Linked DNA regions of Homo sapiens: region 2 is linked to region 1. The links are contacts of gene promoters, found by promoter capture Hi-C in blood cells and fetal thymus (Javierre and others, 2016). All regions are on one chromosome and are shown on one strand. The core of a region is centred on a gene start or on the middle of the fragment in contact, and the rest is flanking DNA. Distances in the headings are between cores, read along the strand shown. Region 1 holds the start of WNK1 (WNK lysine deficient protein kinase 1). Region 2 overlaps WNK1 (WNK lysine deficient protein kinase 1).

Region 1 (7,104 bases), core at 3,217-5,716:
TGGACTACAAATGCTTTGTCATCTCCCAAATTATTAGATCCTAACTAGCTTTTGTTCTTCATCTACCTAATCAAGTTATTTACCTGCTCTATGATTTCAGGTTCCTTATTTGTCAAATAAATAGCTGGGCAGAATAACCTAAGATTTCTCCCAGTTTCAATACACTAAGATTTTTAACTCAACAACTTAACTCAATATTCTCCTGTCTTGCTTCAGAAATATATGTATATTAAAAGGATAGATTTAGCGAAAAAGTTTCTATCTTTCCAGTGCTTTAGTAATCCCTTGGCTTGTCCTTTAATTTGGCTCCAAAGATAAAAGTTCAAACACTGACCCACTGAATATTTTATTAGGCATGTAGTGCAAGTGTCCTGGTCAAAAAACCAAAAATACTGCCTAACTACTGCTATAAAGGATTTTTCAGGTAAGATAATCTTTTCAAAATCAAAACAAAAAATTACAGAAGCACAGACAAATAACATGGAAGTTTCTAAACCAGGTACCACTTAATAAGCTAGGATTCATCTAGTTCTGCAGCCAAATCCTGAAATGACTCAAAAATAATATGCGATGTAAGATTTTCTTTAGTTTGGTAATGCCCATGCCTAGATAGAGAATTAAAAATCCAAAAAGTTACGAGTTCTAAGAAAACCTGAGAAGCTTGGACAAAGTTTTTATCGTGACATTAGACAAATTAAGTTTTTTTCACTGTATTATCAGTTCCAAGATAATAAAGTATCAGAAAATTCCAGGTGATAAAAGGAAAACACACATCACATGCTAAGAAGTCTCAGAAGTGAAATAATTAAAACTAACAAAATTAATTCATAAAGTGCTCAACAAGTAATTGGGTCCAGTCTTAAAAAAGTAAGGTAACCGGTTAAGGAAAACAAAATTGTTAAAAAGCACCTATTCAAATATAAAACTATAATGGAAGAATAAAATTCCAGCATCAGTATCAATAAGCATCGATAGTACAAGAAAGAAATGTGTCTACCTGTAAATTTCTGCCTGTAAACCAAAAGGAATCGGACATAAGTTTTTTTGTTGTTGTTGTTTTTGTTTGTTTTTGAGACGGAGTCTCGCTCTGTCACCACGCTGCAGTGCGATGGTGCGATCTCCGCTCACTGCAACCTCCACCTGCTGGGTTCAAGATATTCTCCTGCCTCAGCCTCCCGAGTAGTTGGAATTACAGGCGCGCGCCACCATACCCGGCTAATTTTTGTATTTTTAGTAGAGTCGGGGTTTCCCCATGTTGGTCAGGCTGGTCTCGAACTCCTAACCCCGTGATCCACCCGCCTTGGCCTCCCAAAGTGCTGGGATTACAGGCGTGAGCCACCGTGCCTGGCCCAGACTAAGTTTTTTGAATATGACTGACCAAAATGAACAGTTTTCGTTTGACGAGGTTTTTTTTTTTTAAAGATCTGTCACCTTTTCAATTCTAAAATACTATAAAATTAATGAGTAGTTTTAATTTCACACTACCTTAGAAGTTCTACATCATTAACTGTAAAAGTTAAGAAATGATTATGTTTGTAAAGAACTTCTTAGTTTTTAAGTTTACTTCCACATGCTGTGTTAATTTCACATTTGATATGGCCTTAGTTATTTGGAACCTGACATTCAAAGGGTTACGTGTTAACATATTAGTTCATGGATAAAATAAGTTCCAAGATCATTCAGTTATTTTCATATCCTGTATCAGGCTGGTCTATATTCTTGGCAAGATTACTATATCAATAATGGCAATTTTTATGCATGCATAATGTGGCTGACTTCCTTCAGCATAAACCTGCTCCTACTAATAACCTATGTTCACCTATGCCCAATCAGGGCAATATTTAAGCAAGCTGCTTCAGTAAGTCAAGCAACAAGTAGCCCAAACTCAGCTGTTTAAACCTAGAATGTACTAGTCAACCGGAATGACACACCATTATTTACACCACTAGAGGTTAAAAAAGGAAGTGCTGCGACTCCTTCGGACTCTTGGGAAAGTTCAGCTTAAAGATATTTTATAAGATTAAAACAATGATGATGACATTACGACTCTCAAAGCACTTACACAATTTTGCATGGGCTCCTATACTATTCGCTGTATAGTGAATGGGCTGAAAGACATTAGTTTAATGAACGTCAGAGCAATGCTGCTACTGTAAGGCTTAAGCATCATTAGGTAGAACAACATCAAACATCCAAAAGGGGCAGAGAAGAGTCTTTTTTTAATAATTATTTTATACTAAATGCCTGTGCAACCATCAAGCAAAATACATCCAAAGGTACAAGGTTGTTCTCATTTAAAAAGAACAGCCTGATCTCAGGAATGAAAACACGCTTCTACACCCAGACGCAGCTCATCACTGCAGAGCCTTTGATGAGATTGAAATGCACAGAAGAAGAAGCATCTGTACTTTCAACTTCCCCACTCATTCCAAGTTTCCTGCCAGACTCTAAACCAGGAGACAATTCGTTTGTACTAAGATGACCTTCACCACCGCTGCCCGGTAGCAAATCCCTCTGGCTACCAATAATTCTTATCCTATCCCAACACCTAGGCACATGCTCCACATTCTCCTAATTTCAGCCCCTTTCAAAAGTTGGCCTCCCCGTCCCACTCGGAGTCCAACAGAGAATGCCAAGTGAAGGGTGAACTCGATCAACTGGCTTCGCCGAGCCAAATTTGGGATCCAAAGGACCGTCAAATAAAGTAGGTGGGGCTTTACCTGCAGTTCACACCAGGCGACTTCCACGGTGGTTTCAGTGTCCAGACCTTTGTAGACCGTCTTAAAGGAGCCTCTGCCGATTTCGATGTCAAACTTGAGAAAGCGGCCATCGTTAGACATTCCCACGGCCTTGGTCTCCAGCTCTTCGATATCATCCTGCTGCTGGCTCCGTTCCTCCTGTGGCTCCTTGGCGCTGCCGCCGCCGCTGCCACTTCTCGCCGGCGGCGGCTCCTCTTTGCTCCCCACAAGGCTAGGCTGGGACACTGGGCGGTCTTTGCTGGTACTGCTGGGGACAGTCGAGGGGGCAGGGCCCGCGACGGCCTGTTCCCCAGGGGCGGCAGCGGCTGGAGGCTGCTGGGCTACCTGGGAAGTGGCGGTGGCGGTCACGGTCTCTTCCCGGTGGGGCTCCGGTGGAGCACTCTGCGGGACAGCCGCGGGGATGCTGGGCTGGGGCAGGGAAAGAGGAAGGCCGGGAAGCTCCAGTGCAGTGGCATTGGAGTCACAGATGACGCTCCGGCGGAAGAAGCGGTGCTCAGTGGTGGTAGTGGTCGCGGCCGCCCCACGGCTGTCCTTGTCCATAGTGTGGCGGCGGCGCCTGTACTCCTCGGTCCTGCCGGTCACAGCGTCGGCGGCCGCGGCTCCCAGTTTCTCCCCCACGGAGGAATCGGAGCTGGAGCCATTCTTGGGGGCAGGAGCCGGCGGCGAGAGGAACAGGGAACCGGGAGTGCTGCTCTGCTTCTCTGCGGCGCCGCCAGACATGGTCGGTTCGCTGGAGAGAGGCGAGCGGGCTCGGATTCGTGAACGAAAAGGGCGTGAAGGGCCGAGCCGCCCGCGCAGAGGTCTGCAGGGAACCGCGGCCGGGCGGGTTCGCGCCGACCCGGACGACGCCTCACTCAGCACCGACAAGCCGCAACGAGGGACAGGCGGACCGCTGGGCCCAGCTGCGGCGGGGGCTGGCACCGAGGCTGCTGCGGCTCACGAGGAGGGCTCGAAGGCGGGCGATTCGGGAGCTGAGCCACGGGGGTTAGCGCCGCACGGTCCGCATCCATCCTGCGGCGAGCGGCGGCCGGGCGGGCGGTGGCAGCAGAGGCGCCGCAGTCATGAGGGGAGGGCCAGGGGCCGGCACCGAGTCGAGGCGGATGCGGCGGACGCGGCTCCCACTGCCGCCGCTCGCCGAGCTGGGCGGGCTAGGCCCAGAGGGCGGCGGCACCGCGAGCACGGGACCAGGTCCGACGCCCGGGCGGTGGCGGCCCCGGGGCAGAGGAGTGGGAGGGGCCGAGGCGGGCGAGGGAAGGCCGCGGCCCGGCTCCCGGTCACTCGGGCGGCCGCCTCCTCCCACACGCGCCCCCAGCGATGGGGACCGGCCTCACAGGTCGCCCATCGCCCAGAGGCGAAGGGCCGGAGCCTCGGAGCCTCGGCGCCTGAGGAGCGGGCCCCCCCTTCCCCGAGGCCTCCCCGCCCGCCCCAGGCCTGGCAAACCCGTCTCCTCCCGGGCCGGTGCCGGGGGCTGACGGAGGAGGGAACGGCGGGGAGGGGAGGGCCGCTCACCGCGGGGCCCGAGCTCCGCTGCTTCTCTGAGGCAAGAGGAGAGGAGACCTAGAGGACTGGGTGAGGGGGAACAGGGAGAGAAAAGAGCAGCCACCCCCACCAGGCGCCTTCTGTCACCGAAGATGGGGGTGCGGAGTGGCCGAGAGAGGAGCCGCGTCCACCCGGGAAACTCTCCGCGCTAAATGGCGCCGGGAGTCTGAAGCCTCCACACAGCCCGCTCGGATCCCGCCCCCCGCCGCCCGGAGCAGCCCCACCCCCCAACTCGCTCCGGGGCTTTTGCGCAGGCGTGCTAGCCCCGAGGCACCCTGGGACTTATAGTTTACGGGTTGGCGGGGATGAACGGGACCTAGAAGAAAAGTGCCTACGACTTCCGTGATGCCTTGCGGTTGCTGTAGCCTAATGCCTCGTGGGAGTTGTAGTTTTCTTTGGAAACCGTCCCTTCTGAAAGGCTGATGGGAGCGTCATCACGGGTCGCTCAACCCCATCCCGAAGTCCGCGCGAGCTTAGGAAAATCATTATTTAGGGATTAATTGTGGAAGAAGGAAAGGAAGGAAAAAAAAAAAAAAAAGAAGAGGAACGAGCGGGCGGGGGGTGGGGGGGGGGATGGAAAGACTCCCATCATGCTCTGCTAAGCTAGAGAGCTCTTAGGGTTGCCATGCAATGAAAAATGATCTGTTGTTCATCTTTAATGGAGAGAGCCTCAGTAGTGTTGAGTGACTGCAGGGCTGTGAGGGTGGAAGGGAAGGGCAAAGCAGGATAACCGGAGCCTGAGCTCTGAGTCGGAGGAGGGGAAAAGAAACTTTGTGAAGATTGTGCATGAAATTAATATTGATTAAACGGATTGGAGGAGGAGACACGGAGGATTACCTTCCATCCTCCTCCCCTCATCAATTAAGGCCACATTCTCAGCTCCCGGCCGAGACGGATATTCTGGCTCTCAAAAAAGGGCTGCCTTACTGAAATCGGGGATCCTAGTGAACTCTATCTTTGCTTTGTCTGAAAAATAATAAAAGGGGGGTTGGGGGAGCGGTGGATTCAAGAAAAGATAAGGTCTACGGATCTATGGGTCTTTGACCACACTTGGGGGGCTGGGCTGACTTCTGCCTTTGTAGTTGGTTGAAACTTATTTTCCACCTTTCTTCTGCTGGTGGCTTCGTGAAACAACACCCCCTCTTTCTCTAGAGCTCCTGAATGTCCACATGCAATGTCTACAAAGGCTCTGGGCCCGGGAAATGTGGATCCATGCGGCTTGCCGCCATGGAATGTTTTTCTTGAAAGCATCCTTGTCTGCCTGGACCCCTGTGCTCTTCGCAACTACTCAAGATGTGGAGGGGACGAGCACCAGGGGGCACCAGACCGAGTAGGAAGCCGGACTCGGGAGCAGACTGCAGTTTAAAAGCCTCAGTCCAACCGGTGGAGAGCGGGAAGCGCTGAAAACGTACGCAACCGCATCAGAGCGTCCGGACGCGGCCGCCTCTCTTCAGCGCCCGCTGCGGAACAAGCTCGAAAGCGCGCGTCGGGGCCGAGGACCACGCTGCGAGCGAGCAGCTAGCAAGGAACTCGGCAGGAGGTTCCTTAGCACAGTTATCGGATGAGCTCCACCTACAGAAGTCTTGCCCTGCAGTTCATGTTAATTCATCTGATACGTAAAATACTTAACCCTATTTTTCTTTTCTTTCTTTTTTTGTTGTTTATCACAAGCTACACTTTCAAGTTTACAAAAATGTTTTAAACCAATGATCGTTAGGTTTCATGAAGCTGACAGGTTACGAACATTTTAAAATGCCGATTCAGCAGGGACAACTAGAGTACTAAAATATTAGTGTTCCATTGCTTTAGAAAATGTATCTTTCATTCGTTTGCTATTGGTAATGGTAAATAATCTCATTATGGCAAATGGAATTAAGAGTGTTTTTCTAACCGTAAACCTAATGTAAGCAAGGGAAGAAATGGCTGTAAAATACATTTTTATTGTACTTTTGAGTAAAATAAAACTTACCCAATTGTTGCTTCACTAGGAAAAATAGTCTGATTTTAAACATAAGGCAGCTAATTACAAATTGGCAAGTTAAAAGAAGATCAGTAAATCACAATGTTCCCTTTTGGCACCATGAAAAAATTAGGATATTTTTGTGTGAGTGGTTGTTAAAGGATTTTATTATTGCCTGTTCCTGTTTACTGAGCCCTGAAACTTTGGCCACACTGCATTGGACACAAGTCCCTTGATAATCACCATGCCCTATCAACATGTCTTTTCAACCAGGAACAACTAAATTCATTGTAAGTAATTTAATTAACTGTTGACTTAAAACCACACTTGCCTAGGAGACAGCTTTTCCCACTTGTGTAATATTAGCTTTACAATGAAAACAGATACAATTTTAAGTTGAATATAATCTTATTATGTACAATGATTAGATTTAAAGGTTATATTATTTAGTGTGCGTATTTTACTAACAAACACTTTTTTGCTCAGTTTTTGTTTTGTTTTGTTTTGTTTTGAGAGAGGCTCACTCTGTCGCCCAGGCTGCAGTACAGTGGCTTGATCCCAGCTCACTCAGTTCTTTTTAATGCTTACCAACCTACCTCCAAGTAAATGGTATTTTCTGTTACTCATTACTATAATTCCTAATAGTACTTTTCCTTTCTCTGTCACTTCAATTATCCAGTAAAGAATCAACCTCTCTATGTTCCATATAAAACATCAAGTGACTGTAAACAGAGATAACAAAGAACCCAGGATACAATGAATGCACTAAGCTCAGAGGTTTGACTTCCTTACATTTGGTTCCACAAGAAGAATACAAGTATGTTATTCTGTCTCACCATGTCTCTA
Region 2 (7,104 bases), core at 1,403-3,902, 66 kb before region 1:
AACGGATAAAACATCTAGACAAAAGATGAGTAAGAAAACAGAAGACTTGAACAATATTATAAACCACCAAAAGGTAACAGACATATTTAGAACACACTGCCCAACAACAAGTGAATATATATTCTCAACTGTACATGGAACATTCCTTCAAGAAATCTCCAAAGAAAAGTCTAGGACTGGATGGCTTCATTGATGAGTTCTACCAAACATTTACAGGAGAATTAACACAAATCCTACTCTTCCAAAAAGCAAAAGTGGAGGAAACACTTTCTAAATCATTCTGTGAGGCCAGTATTGCCCTGATACTGAAGATACCAAAAGAAAACTATAGACTAACACCGTTATTAATGTAGATGTAAAAACTCTCAACAAAATATTGGCAAGCCAAACCCAACTGCATAGTAAAAGGATTATACACTATTTATCTATGAAATGCAAGGGTGATTCAACATAAGAAAATTAATCAGTATAATATATCACACTAATAGAACGAAGTGGTTTCATGATTATCTAACTTGATGCAGAAGAGCATTTGACAAAATCTAACACCTTTCCAAAAAAAAAAAAAAAAAAAAAAAAACTCAAGAAACTAGGATAGGAATAGCAGAGAACTTCCTCAACATGATAAAGAACATTTATGAAAAACTCACAGCTAACATATACTCAATGGTGAAAGACCAAAAGCTTTCTCCTTAAAATCAGTAATATGACAAGGATAATCAATGCTAATCATAATTCAAGCTCTAGCCAAAACAGTTAGACAAGAAAAAGAAATAAAGGCATTCAAATCTGAAAGAACTATCTATTCACATATGACTTGATCCAATATATAAAAATCCCAAAGAATGGCTAGGTGTGGTGGCACACACCTGTAATCTCAGCACTTTGGGAGCCAGAGGCAAGGGAGATCACTTGAGGCCAGGAATTTGTGACTACCATAAGCAATATATTGAGACCCTATCTTTATGAAAAATTTAAAAATTAGCCAGGCATGGTGGTACACACCTGGAGTCCCAGCTACTCAGGAGGCTGAGGTGGGAGGATCCTTTAAGCCTAGAGTTCAAGTCTGTAGTGAGCTATGACTGCACCACTGCACTCCAGCCTCGGTGACAGAGTGAAACCCCATCTGTTTAAAAAAAAAAAAAAAAAAAAAAAACCCCAAAGAATGAACACACACACAGATGAGCTAATACAAGAATTCAGTAAAGTTACAAAAGTACAAGACTGACACACAAAAATCAGTTGTATTTATATATACCAGCAATTAACAATCTGAAAAGGAAATTAAGAAAACAATTTCATTTGCAATAGCATATAAAGGATCTAGGAATAAATTTAACCAAGGATGTGAAAGACTTGTATAATGAAACTACAAAACATTGCTGAAAGAAATTAAAAAAGACATAAATAAATGGACAGACACCCTGTGTTCACGGATTAGAAGACAATATAGTTAAAGATGGTGATACTATACAAAATGATCTACAGATTCAACACAATTTCTGTCAAAATTCCAACAGCCTTTTCTTGTAGAAATGGAAATCTAATCCTCAAATTCACATGGAATTTCAAGAAGACCCCAACTGTCAAAAACAATAGTGAAAAAGAAGAACAAAATTGGAGAAGTCACTTCTAATTTTCAAAATTTACAAAAATTACTATAGTAATCAGAGCAATGCGGTACTGGCATAAGAACAGACATGTAGGCCAATGAAATAGAATTGAGAGTCCAGAAATAAACCTATACATATGATTAAATAATTTTTGAGAAGAGTACCAAGACCATTCAATAGGTAAAAGTCTCTTCAACAAATGATGCTGGGATAACTGGACATCAACATGTAAAAGAATGAAATCAGACCCTACCTCACGGCATACACAAAAGTTAACTTAAAAATGGAACAATAACCTAAATAGAAAAGTTAAATTGATAGAACTCTTAGAAGAAAACTTAGGGATACATCTGTATGCCCTTGGTTATTTATGACAATGGACTCTTACATGACACCAAAAGCCCAACCATCAAAAGACAAAGCAGATACATTGGATTTTATCAAAATTTAAAACTTGGCACAGGCTTGAGCATCCAAATCAGAAAATCCAAGATCCAAAATGCTCCAATAGAAAATCTGAACTTGAGCACCAACATGACACACAACAAAAATGCTCATTTGAACATTTTGGAGTTCAGATTTGGGAGGCTTAACTGGTAAGTATAATTCAAAGTTCCAATATCTGAAAAAATTCAAAGCCCTTCTGGTCCCAAGCATTTCGGATAAGAGATACTATACTCAATCTGTACATCATAGAACATTATCAAGGAGCAAAAAAGGCAACCTATAGGAGAAAATATCTGCATATCATGGATCTGGACAAGGGTCTAATTTCTAAAATATATAAAGAACTCTAATAAATCAACAAAAAAACAAGCAATCCAATAAAAAATGAGCAAAGAACTTGAATAAACATTTCTCCAAAGATACACAAATAGCCAATAAGCATATGAAAAGATGTTCCACATTATTAATCATTAGGGAAATGCAAATGTAATCCATAATGAGGTATCATGTCACTCCCGGTAGGATGCCTCCTCAAAAAGTTAAACAAAGATTTCCACATGACTCAGCAATTCCATTCCTAGTATACAGCCAAAAGAAATGAAAACAGGTACTCAAAAAAATACTTCTGCACAAATATTCATAGCAGCAGTACTCATAATAGCCAAAAGGTGGATACAGCCCAAATGTTCATCAATGGATAAATAAACAAACTGTGATATTTCCATGCAATGGAATGTTATTCAGTCATAAAAGGGGATGAAGTACTGATGCGTGCAATCACGATGATCCTCGAAAACACCATGCTAAGTGAAAGACGCCAAACACAAGGATCCATAACATACTTTGAGTCTATTTATAGGACATATCCTGATTAGATAAATCCATAGAGATGGTAAAAAGTTGGTAGTTGTCAGGAGCTGAGGGTTGGGAGAAATGGGAAATTGTTCCACGGGCATAGAGTTTGTGACATGAAAAGCATTCTAGAAATTGCACAGAAATGTGTTTGTATTAACACTACTGAACTATACACTTAAAAATGGTTAAGATGGTAAATTTTGTTATGTTTTTTACAATAAAAAAATCCCATCCACGAATGGCTGGTCCCAGAGATCAGGCAGTCCAACCACTTGTTTTACATACACATGGGGAACTGAAGCCCAAATAAGGTTAGCTATTTGCCCAAAATCACAGTTGGTCAGAGGCAGCGGTGGGAGCAGTCACAACTTCTACTGCAAGTCTAATGCTCTTTCTACTTAATAAACCCTCCTGTTGGCATAAGCCTCTGAAGCTCAGAAACTGAAAATTTCTTTTTAATTGTAAAAAGAAAAAGAACTTAGATAATGTGCAATTAAAGAAAAAATACGCTGCCTGGCTGGAGGAAGGGAAATGCAGAGTAACTGCTTAATGGGCACAGAGTGTTCTGAGGTGATTAAAATGTTGAGTAACTTGATAGATGTGGTACTTACAAAACATTGTGAATGTACTAAGTGCCACTGAATTGTACTTTCTAAAATGTTAATTGTATGATATTTGAATTTCATGTCTATTTAAAAAAATACATCTAAATTTATCTCAACTTTTAATCCAAATTTTTTTTCTTTTTCTTTTTTTGAGATGGAGTCTCACTCTGTCACCCAGGCTAGAGTGCAGTGGCACAATCTCGGCTCACTGCAACCTCCACTTCCGGGGTCAAGCGATTCTCTTGCCTCAGCCTCCCGGGTAGCTGGGATTACAGGCGCCCGCCATCATGCCCAGCTAATTTTTCGTATTTTTAGTAGAGATGGGGTTTCACCATGTTGGACAGGCTGGTTTCGAACTGACCTCAGGTGATCCTGACCTCAGGTGATCCATCCGCCTCAGCCTCTCAAAGTGCTGGGATTACAGGTGTGAACTACCACGCCTGGCCTTAATCCAAATTTTCTGACTCATACATTCCCATCTTATTTTTCAGCTATGGGTGTTTTATCTGTTTCAATGTAAATATACATAGAGAACAAAGGTAGAAACTCGAAAGGTCCAAAAAGCACGCATTTTGGAATTAATTCCCATTCCTTCCCAATCTGCCTCTCCAAATGCTGCCAATGGTCCTAGTTATCCATTCTTCCAGAAATGAATATGAATGTTTTCAATCTACTTGCTTAGGAATCTGTATACATTCTCAATCAGAATTCTTAAATTCTGAAATTTTTCTTTTTCTCATTCTCTCTACTTTTTCATTTTTATTTTTGAGATGGAGTCTCGCTCTGTCACCCAGGCTGGAGTGCAGAGGCACGATCTCGGCTCATTGCAACCTCCACCTCCTGGGCTCAAGTGATTCTCTGCCTCAGCCTCCAGAGTAGCTAGGACTACAGGGAAACCCCTTTTAGATAATTAAATCTATCTGGGTCTTCTCACTACTATGTCATCCTCTTTAAATATTTTCTGTCTTTTTTGTGTGTTCTGTTGCTCATTTCTTCGTAGTTAATATTCCTGTCAATTCAATTCAGTCTGCTGTTTAACCGTTAGACCATTTATGTTTGAATTTTAATGTTCTTATTTCTAGAAGTTCTTCAGAAGCTTTTAAATTATGCCTGTCTTTTTTTTCTTTGGTGTCTTTTTCCTTCAATTCCTTCTTTTCTCTTTATACACTTCATATACACTTACAAATATCTTTACTGACATCATTATGTAAATAATTGTTTGTAATCACTTTCAGACTTGTCCATGATATCCTTAATTGTTGCAGTGCTATTTTCTGGTTGTGTCTATTCACCTTCATTGGTGTGATTTGTAATTTAATTGTGAGGTCATCTTCTTTGGAAACAGTTTTGCCTCTGGACACTGACCAAGGAACTGTGAAAATGTCCCCGGGAGTTTTCTTTCCGTTCCTGATCAATTATCATGTATGTTCTTCGGTTTGGGATTCCTGTACCAAGTAGATGGTACAAATTTATGTTATAGCGCCATCTACATATGAGATGGAAGAATACCAAACAGGCTGGGCACCGTGGCTCATGCTTGTAATCCCAGCAGTTTGGGAGGTCAAATCGGGATGAGGCCAAATCAGGATGAGCTCAGGAGTTTGAGAGCAGCCTGGGCAACAAAATAGACACTGTCTCTACTAAAAAAAAAAAAATTGTTTTTTTATTAGACAGGTATGGTGGTGAGCAACTATAGTCCCAGGTAGTGGGGAGGCTGAGGTGGAAGGATTCCCTGAGCCCAGGAGTTTGAGGCTGCAGTGAGCTATGATTGTGCTGCTGCACTCTGTCCTGGGCAACCGAGTGAGACCCTGTCTCCAAAAAAAGAAAAAGAAAAGATTAGTTTACAGAATAATTAAGAACACTGGTAGCATTTGATGTGAATTTCTATTTTTCATAGGTCTCCCCTCTTATCCACAGTCTTCTGCACACAGGTAAAATTCCTTGCAGCTTTCACTGGCTAGAGCACTGAGGTCTCTCTTTTCACGGATAGTTCAGTTTTTTGACACAGGCTAAGTTCTAGCTCCCCTCTCTACCTAGTTCTAAGGCTTTCTGTCCTTGCATGGACATTAAAACTAGCATCAACTCCTCAACCAATATGTGGTCTAAAATCCCAGAGTATAAGTTCCTGTTTTGGCTTTGAGTTATCTCTGCTTATTATCTGGAGGTTAACCTTTCTTTCCTTAAAGCTTAGACACGTATTGGAAAAAACTTTTATTATATTCCACATTTCAGTTTGTTGGTGTGGGACAGCCATTCCACAGGGGCTTATTACCCCACTATGTTACCCAAAGCTCCTCAATATAGTTTTTAAAACAAGTAAACCATTGTATTTTAGAGTAATCTTAGGCATGCCAGACAAACTGTTGACAACCAAGTAAGTATCCAAACCAGTGGAAAGAATCTCAAGATGTACACATAATTATTACCACATAATTCTCCTTAATTCATTCAAACACTTATTATTCAGTATTAGACACTTCCAGTAGAATGTGATATCTAGCACTTGTTCATAGTACTAGGTATATAGTGCTAGTTAGCACATTCTAATGGAAGAAAAGAGAGTATCAAGAAGCCTGACTAACTAGGATAAAGGTATTGCCATAAACAAGAGTGGAAGTTGGATAAAGAAATTAGAATTTGCAGGACAGAAATGATCTGTTCATGTTTCAACATGCTAACCGTAAGCATTTCAGAAAACATGCAAGTGACTATATCCAGGTGCTGTAACACTGTATTCCAATGATCTGGAATTAATCAGCTCAGCAGTATTAACTTTAACAATTAATAAAGAATATATGCCACAGTGATAATTTAAAAATATCCAATTTCACCAAATAAAAAATTTATACAAGGTAACTTACTACAGGTTCTTCTCTGAGTAAAAACAGATCCTCTAAGATACCAGGGGTCCCCAACCACTGAGCCACAGATCAATATCAGTCCATGGCCTTTTAGGAACCTGGCCACACAGCAGGAGGTGAGTGGCAGGCGAGCAAGCAAAGCTTCATCTGTATTTACAGCCGCTCCCTCACTGCTCGCATTACCACCTGAGCTCTGGCTCCTGTCAGCAGCATTAGATTTCTCACAGGGCCATGAACCCTACTGTGAACTGTGCATGCAAGGGATCTAGGTTGAGCGTTCGTTATGAGAATCTAATGCCTGATGATCTGCCCTGTCTCCCATCACCCCCAGATGGGACAGTTGAGTTGCAGGAAAACAAGCTCAGGGCTCCCACTGATTCTACATTATGGTGAGTTGTATAACTATTTCATTATATATTTTAATGTAATAATAATAGAAATAGAGTGCACAATAAATGTAATGTGCTTGAATCATTCCAAACTTCCCCAGCCCCACCCCCGCACCAGTTCATGGAAAAACTGTCTTCCATGAAACCAATCCCTGATGCCAAAAAGGTTGGGGACTGCTGCTCTAAGAAACCTGGGATTACAAAGGCATACTCCAACACTTACCAAAAGCTCTTTACAATAAGTAACGGGAAATTTCTGCATTAAACCTATTTCTGTGAAAGGAATGATAGATCTAGCTATTTGGGGATTAATTTCTGATGTTATGGGAAATGG

The links. The method cuts DNA at HindIII sites, captures the fragments that hold promoters and counts their contacts. A CHiCAGO score of 5 or more calls a contact.
Region 2: a fragment that was not itself captured here is called in contact with the fragment with the promoter of WNK1 in region 1 in 7 of 17 cell types (activated CD4 T cells, M2 macrophages, non-activated CD4 T cells and 4 more); the score reaches 10.0 in activated CD4 T cells.

What each region holds. Positions count from the first base shown.
Region 1 is chr12:749,941-757,044 of GRCh38, reverse strand. It overlaps WNK1 (WNK lysine deficient protein kinase 1), which reads right to left and starts at 4,466. Exons shown (of 28, transcript NM_018979.4): 1 at 2,721-4,466. The coding sequence starts at 3,479. RefSeq lists enhancers at 3,016-3,734, 3,735-4,453, 5,211-5,260, 5,311-5,410 and silencers at 3,571-3,950, 3,961-4,340, 4,421-4,570. The HindIII fragment of the contact is 8,297 bases long and covers 663-7,104 here.
Region 2 is chr12:814,519-821,622 of GRCh38, reverse strand. All of the region lies in intron 2 of WNK1 (WNK lysine deficient protein kinase 1), which reads right to left. Among named protein-coding and RNA genes, the nearest start is that of WNK1, 65 kb to the right of the region's middle. The HindIII fragment of the contact is 3,932 bases long and covers 687-4,618 here.